2 separate regions of the Homo sapiens genome follow, and region 2 is linked to region 1. The links are contacts of gene promoters, found by promoter capture Hi-C in blood cells and fetal thymus (Javierre and others, 2016). All regions are on one chromosome and are shown on one strand. Each heading gives the region's core, a stretch centred on a gene start or on the middle of the fragment in contact. The rest is flanking DNA. Distances are from core to core; before and after follow the strand shown.

Evidence for each region. The method cuts DNA at HindIII sites, captures the fragments that hold promoters and counts their contacts. A CHiCAGO score of 5 or more calls a contact.
Region 2: a fragment that was not itself captured here is called in contact with the fragment with the promoter of NDUFB4 in region 1 in 1 of 17 cell types (activated CD4 T cells); the score reaches 5.7 in activated CD4 T cells.

Annotation. Positions count from the first base shown.
Region 1 is chr3:120,595,007-120,601,174 of GRCh38, forward strand. It overlaps NDUFB4 (NADH:ubiquinone oxidoreductase subunit B4), which reads left to right and starts at 1,330. Exons shown (of 3, transcript NM_004547.6): 1 at 1,330-1,533; 2 at 6,105-6,168. The coding sequence starts at 1,354. RefSeq lists enhancers at 1,401-1,740, 2,781-2,850. The HindIII fragment of the contact is 1,375 bases long and covers 813-2,187 here.
Region 2 is chr3:120,098,145-120,104,210 of GRCh38, forward strand. All of the region lies in intron 1 of GSK3B-DT (GSK3B divergent transcript), which reads left to right. Among named protein-coding and RNA genes, the nearest start is that of GSK3B-DT, 6.1 kb to the left of the region's middle. The HindIII fragment of the contact is 4,151 bases long and covers 1-4,134 here.

The DNA.
Region 1 (6,168 bases), core at 80-2,579:
ATTAGACTACTTTGAAATATTACCATTTCTGCCTATTCTTTCTGTACTGCCTGATTGTCAGCTCCCGAAAGGCAAACACCCCATCTTCCATTTTGTCTGGATTTCCCCCACTGAGCCTAGAAGATTGACTTAACACTGACTAGTGTGCTGTGTGCTTCACGCGGTGGGTGCTTAATAAATATTTTAAAACAGTATTAAAATGTTGAATAAATTTGACAGCAGTGCTGCTTCTCATCATTTCAAATGCCAACACTTTCTAGGTCCCTTTTCTAGCAACCATTTCCCAACATACCTACGCGCCCCCAGACGTTTCAGCCAAGCTGGGGCTCTCTTTTGATCCATCCTTCTTTGCCCGAGTTATGGAAATATTGTTTACATTTTTTCCCCTGAGGAGAAGGGGAACCCAAAGACCCTGCTGTGAAACTTGAAGTTGTTTTTCTCCTTGGTAACTGGGGAGAAGGAAGGACAGTAGGGACAGAGAAGGTTTTGTTTCTGATTACTTCAGTTTTCGCCCCAGATCGTCTTTTACAATAAGATACATGCCCCTATGAGTATTTTCATACCTGTAAGGATGTTTTTAATTCTTTGCATCTGAAGAGTGCTAAGGATTTTAGGCAAGAGGTTTTAGTATTTTAACTAAGATGTTTTCTCATGAGCTTTATTCAGTATCTCATTTTCTTCCTGACCTTCTATAGTCAGTCAGGCAACATTTCTCTTATAACATCATTTTTCCTATTAATCATTATTTCGTACCTGTGAAAAATAAGCTTACACTTAATGTTGTATGAATCTAGCATGGTAAAGTACAGAAAAGCTTATTCTCTTCTTCTTGGGTAGGGAATTCTGTTTTGCAAAGCACTTTGTGATCTATTTGTTAGCTTATTTAATCCTCACAACAACTTTGCTAGGTGGACAGGAGTCATTATCTCCAGGATAAGGAAAAGGAAACTCAGAGACTTTAAGTGACTTATCCAAGGTGACACAGCACGGTTAGACCCACAATGAAAACCCGGACTTCTGACTCCACAGCCAGTCCCACACAGCTCAACTTTACATAATAAGCCCTGGTTATGTCAGTAGAGACAAGGCTGCTAGGAAGAAGCAGCGCGGTGACAGATGAGTAGGTGGGGAGCGGCGGTGGGGCAGGGCGCACTGCGAGAAGAGCACTTCGCGCATGCGCATATCACCGAGCGAACGCGCCGTGTTCGGGAAGGTAGGAGAAAGAGGCGGAGCTCCTTGTTAACGACATCCCCAACCTCTGCTAACGCGCAGGCGCACTTCCTGAAGCTGAAGGTCAGCATAGACAAAGGGCCTCAGAATCGCGCAGGCGCAATTGTGCCCTGGTTCGCCAAGATGTCGTTCCCAAAGTATAAGCCGTCGAGCCTGCGCACTCTGCCTGAGACCCTCGACCCAGCCGAATACAACATATCTCCGGAAACCCGGCGGGCGCAAGCCGAGCGGTTGGCCATAAGAGCCCAGCTGAAACGAGAGTACCTGCTTCAGTACAACGATCCCAACCGCCGAGGGCTCATCGTGAGTGTGGGGCCTCCCAGGCGGGAATAGGGCCCGAGTCCTGGGAGAGACCGAGAGAGACCACGCAAAGGGTCGGCCACCGCTCCCGATCAGTATCTCAGACGCAGGTCCTCTTCCAGGCCTAGCCAACTCACTACCCTTTTACCTTTGCCAGAGCTTGGCCCTCGAGAGGACCGGCTCTGGACTCAGACCTGGCTGGGTTTGAATCCTGGCTTGATCACTTCCTGCCTGCGTGACCTTAAGAACGTTATTCACTCTGCTTATCCTCGATTTTCTGTCTGCAAAATGGGCGTAATATAGTGCTTACTCTTTTATCAGGCTGTTAGGATTAAATGAGATAGAGTATGTGACTGTCCTAGCACAGTGCCTCGTTCGTAAGGCGTGTTCAGAAAATGTTTCTATATATATGCATATATATATTATATTATATATATATTCTATATATATGCATATATATTATATTCTATATATATGCATATATATTTTATATATATGCATATATATTATATTCTATATATATGCATATATATTTTATATATATATATAATTTTAAAGAGCTGGTGTTTACCTTTCAGTTCACAGCTCATAGGGATACTGCTCTCTCCTGATGGGAATACAGTGATTCCTTCAACCTGCATCTTTTAAAGACCCTGAAGCTTGCTGAAGTTCTAGGCTTTGGAGTCAGAACCCAAAGCACTACTCATTGGCTAACTCTGTTACCTTGGGCAACTTCAACTCCTCTGAATTATAGTTTCCTGGTTTCGTATATAAATGATGTGCATTATGAGGTTAAATAAGACAGTCTGTGTAACATTCGCAGCACATAATATATGCCCAGTAAACTGGTAATTAACAGGTGTGCTTTCATTAGGTAGTTTTCTATACAGGAACTAAGTAGGTTAAATATGATGTTAACAGAACAGGACTGGACTTTTCCCACACGTTGCATTGGTGTTTTGGAATTTTTGGAAGTTATGAGGATTGAATGAAAGTTACAATGTGCCAGGCACTGTGCTAAAACTCTTTTTGAGTACTATTTACATATCACAACTATTTGGATGATTAAGCTCTACTACTGTCCCCATTTTACAGATGAGAAGACAACATGGGAAGGACAAGTAGGTCATACAGAGATACCTCTTTAGTAGGTGATAGAGCAAAATTCTAACCCTGGTTTGTGTAACCCACAGCATCTGCTTTTAACTAGTTGGTTATACTGTCTCCAGCCAGAACCTTGTTAACTTGGGAAGAGGGTGCAGAGAGACACATTTATTACAAACTCACATGATTGGGTTTGATGTGTTAGTGTGATGCATTAAAAAAGAATAAGGCCTCAGTCAGACCTGAAATTGAAACCAAGATCTTCTGTCTTCTAGCTGTATGCCTCAGGGTAGTTTCAATTTTCTCATGTGTAAATAGAGGTAATACTACCAGTCTCTTTGGTTCTGTTGATTAAATGAGTGTGTGACACTATCATTTATTAATCAATACATGTAAATTCTCTTGCCTAATTTTTTTTTTTTTTTCCCTTGAGACAGGATCTTACTCTGTCACCCAGGCTGGAGTGCAGTGGTATGATCTCGGCTCACTGCAACCTCTGCCTCCCGGGCTCAAGCTGTCCTCCCACCTCCGCCTTCCAAGTAGCTGGGACCACAGATGTGCGCTACCATGTCCGGTTAAGTTTTTGTATTTTTTATAGAGATGGAGTTTCATCATTTTGCCCAGGCTGGTCTTGAACTCCTGAGCTCAAGCGATCCTCCTGTCTCCGCCTCTCAGAGTGCTGGGATTACAGACTTGAGCCACTGTGCCTGGCCATCTTGCCTAATCTTTAAGAATGATTGATTGAATCAATAAATAATTGCTCAGGGTCTGTTATGGCCCTATTTTACATGCCAAGATAACAATGGAGATCAAAACAGGCAAAAATTCCTGTCCTTGTAGAACAAACTTTCTAGTAGGGGAGACAAGAAACAAGTTAAAAAATTAAAATCATTTAACATGTTAGTGGTAAGTGATGAGAAAAAAAATAAAGCAGGGGAGATTTGGAGTGTGTGTAAGTAGTAGGGGAGGTAAGCAGCTACAATCTTAGGCCCAGGGAAGCCCTCTGTTTGAAGGTGACATCTGAATAAAGATCTGAAAGAAGTGGGGTGAGGGACCTAGCTCTCTAGGAAGGCAGCCTACTCATCAGAGAACGGCAAGTGCAAGGGCCATTAGGCAGGAGAGTGTCAGGTTAATTGAAAAAACACTGGAGAGACCATTGTGACTAAAGTGGAGAAAGGTGAGGGCAGAGTGGGACAAGATCACACCAGGCCTTGTAGGTAATTGTAAGGACTTTTACTGAATAGAGAATTTCGTGATCTGGACTTAACAATTTCTCTGGCTGCTTAGTTGAGAATTGACTATGGGGGAAAGGACAGGATCAGGGAGACTAGGAGGCTTTTGTAGTAATCCAATCTCTGTTGATTACCAGGGTGGTGGCAGAAGGCGGTGAGAAATGGTAGATTCCAGGTGTATTTTAAAAGTAGAGCCAACCAGGTTTGCTGATAGACTAGATGTGGTGTATGAAAGAGGAGTCAAGGATGACTCCAAGGTTTTTGACCTAAGTGATTTTAAGAATGAAGTTGCCTTTTACTAAGAAACACAGGAATGGGAGAAGAGAAGGTATGGAGGTGGAGTAGACTGTTGGGAAATCAGTTTGGGATATGTGACGTTTTAGATGCCTGTTAGACCGTATGTCAGAGTTCAGCAGTTGGTTGGATATTAAGTCTGGAGAGTTACAGGGCTGGAGGTAAAATTTTGGGAATCATCAGCCTTTAGATAGATTATTTAAAGTTATCTGACCAGATGACATCATCAAGGGAGTAAATGTAGATAGGAAAGACCAGCGAGGTCCAATATTAAGAGATTGGGGAGATGAGGAGGAAAAGAGCAAAGAAATGAAGAGAGAATGGCCATAGAGTTAGCAGGAAATCCAAGCAGGTGTGGGCCTGGAAGTCAAGTGAAGACATGATTTTCAGGAGTTTTCACCATGTCAGATGCTACTGAGAGTGCACTGGACTTTTAGTGATGTCAGAGGAGGAAAACTCTCTTCATAGTGTGTCTTTTGGAACCTCTCAATAACATTACCGGGCTTAATGAACTATGGTCATGGGGCAATTGGTATTTTTATGAAATGAAATGTCTGTTTCTGGAAGACAGATCTGGCAGATATTAAAGCACAGAGAGGTGACTAGCAAATTGAGAAGTCTGCCATTTGATAGTCATTCAGATACATTTATAGTAGAAAGGATGTAAGAATAGATGCATTAATCCTTTCAGCTATTGAGCTTTAACATCCCCTTGGACCTAATCTGTGTCTTTACCCTCTTTTTTCTTGTTGGCAGTATAGGCATAATAATAAACAATGCTGCAGAACACTTGCATGTGCTTTCATTTTAATGTGGTGTGATAATGTCAATAGTTTCTAGAACAGCAGAAGATATTTTGGGACTTTGTATCTAGTAGTGAGTGCTTACACCGTTGAGGAATTTCAGTCTGATTAAAAGGAACGGAAGCATTTCCATCATAAGGTTTTTTTTTTTGTTTTTTTTTTTTTTTAAACTTCTGAGCTGCAGCTGATTATCTCAGGGTAAATTGTTGTAATTTAGTTTGAAATATGACTGTGGAAGACCTTGTGAAATTATTTTAGTCCTACAAATCATGACTTCTTGATGTTGGTTAGGACCTTGAATATTCATGTTATATATTAAAGTCTTAAAGCTGATTTTATTTGCTTATTTTTATCTGTCAGTTAATTGGAGAGACTAATTTTGTAAAATCACTTGGGCATTTAGCTAATTAAATTTATGTGTTTGTGGGTAGATTTGCTATTCATGGATAGTTATTCTAGTATAAATATATTAAAATGGACAATTATTTTCTTAAGACAGTCTGATTATTTTTCTTTAACAACTTTGACCTTTCTACAAAACTTCTAATAGTGTGAAATGTCTGAATTAATGCTTTTCACACTAGGTCAGCTTAAAAAACTTACAGTTCAGCTAGCCTACCCCCTCCTTCATCTTCCTACAGCTTATTTGTAGCCTGGAAAGACTATTTTGGTGATAGCATTAGAAAGGGTCCTGGAAACAAAATACAAAGCATGATAGAGCATATGAAATCTGTTTCTCTTCATTGGGAATACTGCATGGTTCTGATGGTCACACTTGACAATGAAGCTAAAAACAGTCCAGAGAAGAATAGATGAAAATGACAAAGGAGAAAAAGTGGCTTCTCTGACAGTTAGATTAGGTTAGATTAGTTAGATTAAGATTAGGATTCTTAAATAAACAGAAAGCTAATTAGTGATATGAGCCTTCTACATTCTGAAGGATTTGAACAAGATCATTAGAATTCAAAAAACACCAGAAATGAAAGATCTTTCCTGAAGCTGTTTAGGAATATTCATGATATACCCTTAACTGTTCTAGAGAACAAAATGCGTCTGTGCTCCTTCACAAAAGTCCCTATGAATTTGTTTCTCAATGTGATCCTTCTTAAGTTCTATAACTTTTTGTTTTCATTAATTTTAGGAAAATCCTGCCTTGCTTCGTTGGGCCTATGCAAGAACAATAAATGTCTATCCTAATTTCAGAC
Region 2 (6,066 bases), core at 809-3,308, 500 kb before region 1:
TTTTATGATAATCCTTTGTCATATAAGTTAAAATAGTAAAACTAGACAATAGTGAGTAAGTATTATATTTGAGACACCTGCTAGGCATCTGATATAAGGTGGATGAGAGGATCAGTGTCCTTTGGGAGTTTACCCTCTAGGGAAGCAACTACATGAAAAGTTAAATAAATTATAAAAATCACATTTTGAATTGATAAAAGTTATGAGACAGAACATAATTTGGTTTTTATTTATTTTTTTGAGACAGGGTCTCACTTTGTCCTCCAGGCTGGAGTGCTGCGGCCTCAACCTCCCAGGTTCAAGGGATCCTGCTGCCTCAGCCCCCCAAGTAGCTAGGACTACAAGGGTGCACCACCACACCCAGCTAATTTTTGTATTTTTTGTATAAATGGGGTTTCGCCATGTTGCCCAGACTGGTCTCAAACTCCTGGGCTCAAAATCTGCGTGCCATGGCTTCTCAAAACGCTAGGATTACTGGCGTGAGTCACCATGCCTGGCCTATAATTTGTTAATATGGTTGTTACTACAAAGTTTAAAATAAATTGCCCATGCATTCCTATTTATAATAGGTGAGTGGAGGACACTTCAATCTAAAGTGATCTTAAAGGAGGAGTAGTAGGATTTGAAGATGAAGAAAGAAGAGGGGAGGTAAATTACTTTCCATCACTTCAATTTCAACCCATCAGATAAAACCTCTCTTTAGTAAACCTGCATGTGGGTGGAGCTGTAACAGCAATTAAGGACAGTGTGACTCTGTTCTTCTGACTTTGGGAAAACCAGTTTGGCTGGAACAAAAAGCTGATAGAGAAGACTAATGGAAGATAAGGTTGAAAAGGTAGGTTTGAGGGAGCTTTGTTACAGGAAAAAAAAAAAAAAAAAACTGGGCTTTGTCCTGTAGACAGTGGAGAGGTACTTTAGCAGATGTAAGACATTACCATTATAGGAAAGCCTCTGAAGTAACATACACTGTGGTTTTTCCTGTTGCTGAAAATATGCCCAGAGTAACAAGATGTGGCATAGTTGGTTATGTGTCTTATAACCAGTGAGGTGTGCCCAAATGGGAAATTAATGAATGACTACCCAAAAAGAAGAGGGAGAGTGTTTGAAACACTGTCACTGTGAAATAGACTGGTTGTATGAAAAGTTGCATATCAAGCCTTTGGCAAATTATATAAATACTCTGATTTTGACATCTTAAAGGAGTATACTATAGAAAATAAAAGAAAAACACTTGAATCTGTTACAGGAAACGGGTCATGATCCAGACCCCAGGAGAGGGTTCTTGGATCTCACACAAGAAAGAATTCAGGGTGACCCCACAGTGCAAAAGTCAAAGCAAGTATTAAGAAAATGAAGGAATAACAGAATGGCTACTACATAGAGCAGCCCTGAGGGCTGCTGGTTGCCCTTTTTTTTTTTTCCTTTGAGATGGAGTTTTCGTTCTTGTTGCCCAGGCTGGAGTGCAATGGCGTGATCTCGGCTCACCACAACCTCCACCTCCCAGGTTCAAGCAATTCTGCCTCAGCCTCCCGAGTAGCTGAGATTACAGGCATGCGCCACCACGCCCGGCTAATTTTGTGTTTTTAGTAGAGTGAGGGTTTCTCCATGTTGGTCAGGTTGGTCTTGAACTTCCGACCTCAGTTGATCTGCCCGCCTTGGCCTCCCAAAGTACTGGGATTACAGGCATAAGCCACCGCACCTGGCCTGGTTGCCCATTCTTTATGGTCGTTTCTTGATGATATGCTAACCAAGGAGTGGATTAATCATGCCTCCCCTTTTTGGACCACATAGGGTCTAAACTGTCATGGCACATTTGTAAACTGTCATGGCACTGGTGGGAGTGTAGCAGTGAGGACGACCAGAGGTCACTCTCGTCGCCATTTTGGTTTTGGTGGGTTTTGGCCAGCTCCTTTACTGCAACCTGTTTTATCAGCAAGGTCTTTAAGACCTGTATTTTGTGCTGACCTCCTATCTCATCCTGTGACTTAGAATGCCTTAACTGACCATCTGGGAATGCAGCCCAATAGATTTCACCCTCATTTTGCCCGGCTCCTGTTTAAGATGGAGTTGCTCTGGTTCACATGCCTCTAACAAATCCTTTTAGTTTTTCATGCTTGTCACATGTTTACTTCTAAGGGTATAATCATGTGGTTTACTATATTATTACCGATTAGATTATTTTGAACTACTTCAATTTTATTTATTTTACCTCATTTCCATTCACATTTTTTGAAAAGAGCTTTTTTATACAAGAGTGTAAATATTTTCACATTGAATAAATGAATTGAAAACAGTATGTGTTGATTGAATACTTGAAGTATACTTCTTTACAGCAAATTCTAGGAATTCAGCTTTGTTTTATGTGCATTAAAATGTAATAAATATAGGCCTGAGAAATTCTCAGAACAAATATTTTAGGCCCTCAGTAGCTGTAAATCGGGAACGGTCAGATTTCCTTCACATGGAAATGGGACTCACATCTCTCAGAATGGAACAGAAGTCTTTTGGTCTTTAATCTATGTCATGTTGATGGGAAATGTGAAAGCTACAAGAAAATTGGTATTTGGTTTCTTGGATATTGAATATCCTTGGCCAGGGGTGCAGGGAAGTGAAAAAAAAGTAAGACCTCCTATGGATCATCCAAAAAGGAATTTCAGAATGCAGAGAGGACTGGTCTCCCTTAATCAGGCCAAAACTTTATTTGAATTGTATCAGGATGCTTCATTCCTGTGCCCTGTAGGATGGAATCTTGAAAGAAAATGGGAAGGAATGTACAAAGCCTCAAGGAATGTGTTTCTCTGTAACATCTAGATCAGACAGTAGTATGAAGTGCCAGATATGAAACCAGAAAGGATCCTTATGAGAGTTTATAGCTCAGTTTTAAGATGTTTTACTATCTCTGCTGTCTTATTTTTTTATTTTTATTTTTAGAGATGGGGTCTCGCTCTGCTGCCCAGGCTGGAGTGCAGTGGTGTGATCATAGCTCACTGCAACCTCAAACTCCTGGGCTCAGGTCAACCCTCCTGCCTCAGCCATGCCCTGCCACTGCCCCCTTCCCCCGCAGTAGCTGGGGCTACAAGTGCATGCCACCACACCCAGCTATTTTAATTACTTTGTAGAGACAGGGTCTTGCCATGTTGTCCAGGCTGGTGCTGTTGTTCTTTATTTTTACAATGTATATTGTGTATGCACTAGTAGTGTTCAGTACTTGAAGATAAAAGTAGTAATTTAGGAAAAATAACCATTATTCCCCTAACTAAATCTTGCTACTCTTAGGACCAGTTAGGAGTCTTAGGAAAATATCAACTCTGATTGTTTTTTCTTTTCTGTTTGTTTGTTTTTATTGTTGTTGTTATTGTTTAGATAATTTGTTGCTCTGTCACCCAGGCTGGAGTGCAGATGTGTGATCATGGCTCACTGCAGCCTACCTCCAGGGATAAAGCAATCCTCCCGCCTTAGCCTCCCAAGTAGCTGGGACTTACAGGCACACAACTGACCTAGCTAATTTTTTTATTTTTGTAAAGGCAGAGGTCTTCCTACGTTGTCCAGACTGGTCTTGAACTCCTGGCCTCAAGCAATCCTCCCACCTTGGCCCCCAGAGTGCTGGGATTACAGGTGTGAGCCACTATACCCAGTCTGGTTTTTTTTCTTTTTTTTTTTTTTTTTTTTTTTTTTGAGGACTCAACATGTCCGAGACAGTTGAGTACACTTCTACTTTCTCTAACCACTTCTTGACAATTTGAATACAGTTTTCATTTTTAGTCTTCTTATCAAAAGTGTTCCAATTGTACTTTTTATCCTTAAGGACTTTAAATATGATTATATAGAATTTCATAAATTTTGCTGGCCTGTGTTGGACAACACATGAAAAGACACGAATATCCTAATTCCACCAGGAAGTGCTTGTTGTCTACTGTGTGCCCAGGTCTGTGCCACATATGGTGGGAAACATTTGCTTGCAACAAATTGAGAAAACTGCTGTATATGCTTTAAAACCTAACTGGTTTATTCAACTGCATTTTAAAAATATTTCCAAGGCCAAAGGCTCTTGGACCCTTTTAGAATTAAAAACAAATATCTTACACAGCCATATCAGCTGGAACTCTGAGGAAGCAAACTATCCTATGGAGGTTAAGCTTTTAATCTGGCATGAGAGGAGTTAAAGTGAAGTACTTCTAAGCACCAGAGAAACCATCTAGTGGGAAAAAAAGAATTCATCAACAGGGAGTTGCCAAATGAGGACACGCACATGCTTTGCCTTCATTATCTAACTTTCTTCCAGTATAAATAGAATTACATGGAGGTGTAAGGCATTTCTCTTGATCTCAGTCAATGCTGTGCACATCGTGGGAACTCAGTAAATGTTGGCAAAATGAGTAGTGTGATTGTAATTGAAAAAGCGAAACAATTATAACCATCAAAATTACAACTTTATAAAATATCTGCATATGGACAAGCACTCTGAGAAAATACTCCCCCCAAAAAAGTTGTTTTATTAATTTTTTAGTTTTCTGAATTTTTTCTTACATTAATTTTTTTCCTATTATCGGTTCTACAATATAATTTGAGTATCAAAATTTCTTAATTAGATGCATTCAAATAGAATCACAGCTTGGGGCAAGTCTCCGTTCACCACCAGGCTTCAAACATGTCATGGCATATCTGGCAAATTGGTAGTTTCAGGCTGCCAAGAGGTGATTTACATAAGGGTTTTGGTGGAAAGACTGCCAAGAAGTGTGGATGACAGAGAGGTGGGGGTTGGCCAGACTGCTTTTCAGTCAATTTGCACAGCTACAGTGCACCAGCCAGTGTTCCAGTTGGTCAGTGCCCATGCCATGCCAGCTGTTAATCCTTGGATTGAGGGAATGACACCTTACCTATCTTGAAGATTCATATTCCAATACAGCCTCGTGGAGTCCACTAGGAAAGTACCAAGAGCAGAAATAGGAGTGCACTAAAATCATTACTACATCACACAACATAATCAAAAGATGAGGGGTTACAGCTTGTTGCCACTTGTGCAGAAAATGATGGCACGATTTTGCAGTATTGGAGATTCCAGGAAACAAGCATTTTGATTCTTTGAGGGCCACAACGGAGGTCATGAAGATGTCCAGCAGCACATGGTAATGACCTGGCTTAATGGGGCTGGCTCACTGATGAGTACTAGAAGTGTTCAAGAAAACTCAGCAGCAGATATCCACGTGGCCGCAGATATGCCTTATTCTTGAGCCCATGTAAAACACTGTGTAGGGGCTCTTAGAAATTATGGGCAGAGGATTTTGCAAGGAGCTGAAGTTCGGCATCAGCAAGCAAAGACAGGAGCCAATGAAATACGGATTGCGAAACTATTCCTAATTAGTTCATTATTAATGTAATCAGATAGCTCATATAGAGTTAATGTAATCAATAGCTCATATAGAATATGAGAATGGGAGGTCCATCTGCTGTTTCCTCACTTGGTGGTCCCCATTTCCGCAAGGTTCTTATTTGTGTTACCATTTCACGAAAATGAAAGTATTGGTAGTTTTTAAAAACAGTTCAGGGCTTTTTTTTTTTTAACAACACAACCCATATATGCAAGTCAAATACAATTCTTCATCTGGTGCTCAACCAAAGAAAGAGTGATACATTCCAATACTGGAGGAAAAACTGGCCTGACTAAATTTATTGATATTTAAGGTCTTGTAAAGGGTAATTTTGAAAGTATGTAATTTCCACTTAAAATGCTATTTTAAGAACCTGAACCTTGCTGTAGTAGTTCCTTTTCATGCTGCTAATAACGATATACTCGAGACTGGGTAATTTGTAAAGGAAAAAGGTTTAATGGACTCACAGTTCCACATGGCTGGGGAGGCCTCACAATCACTGTGGAGGGCAAAGGAAGAGGACATCTTACATGGCTGCAGGCAAGAGGGCATGTGCAAGGGAACTCCTCTTTATAAAACCATCACATCTCATGAGACTTATTCACTATCACAAGAACAGCATGGGAAAAACCTGCCCCCATGATTCAATTACCTCCCCCCAGGTCCCTCCCACTACATGTGGGAATTCTGGGAGCTA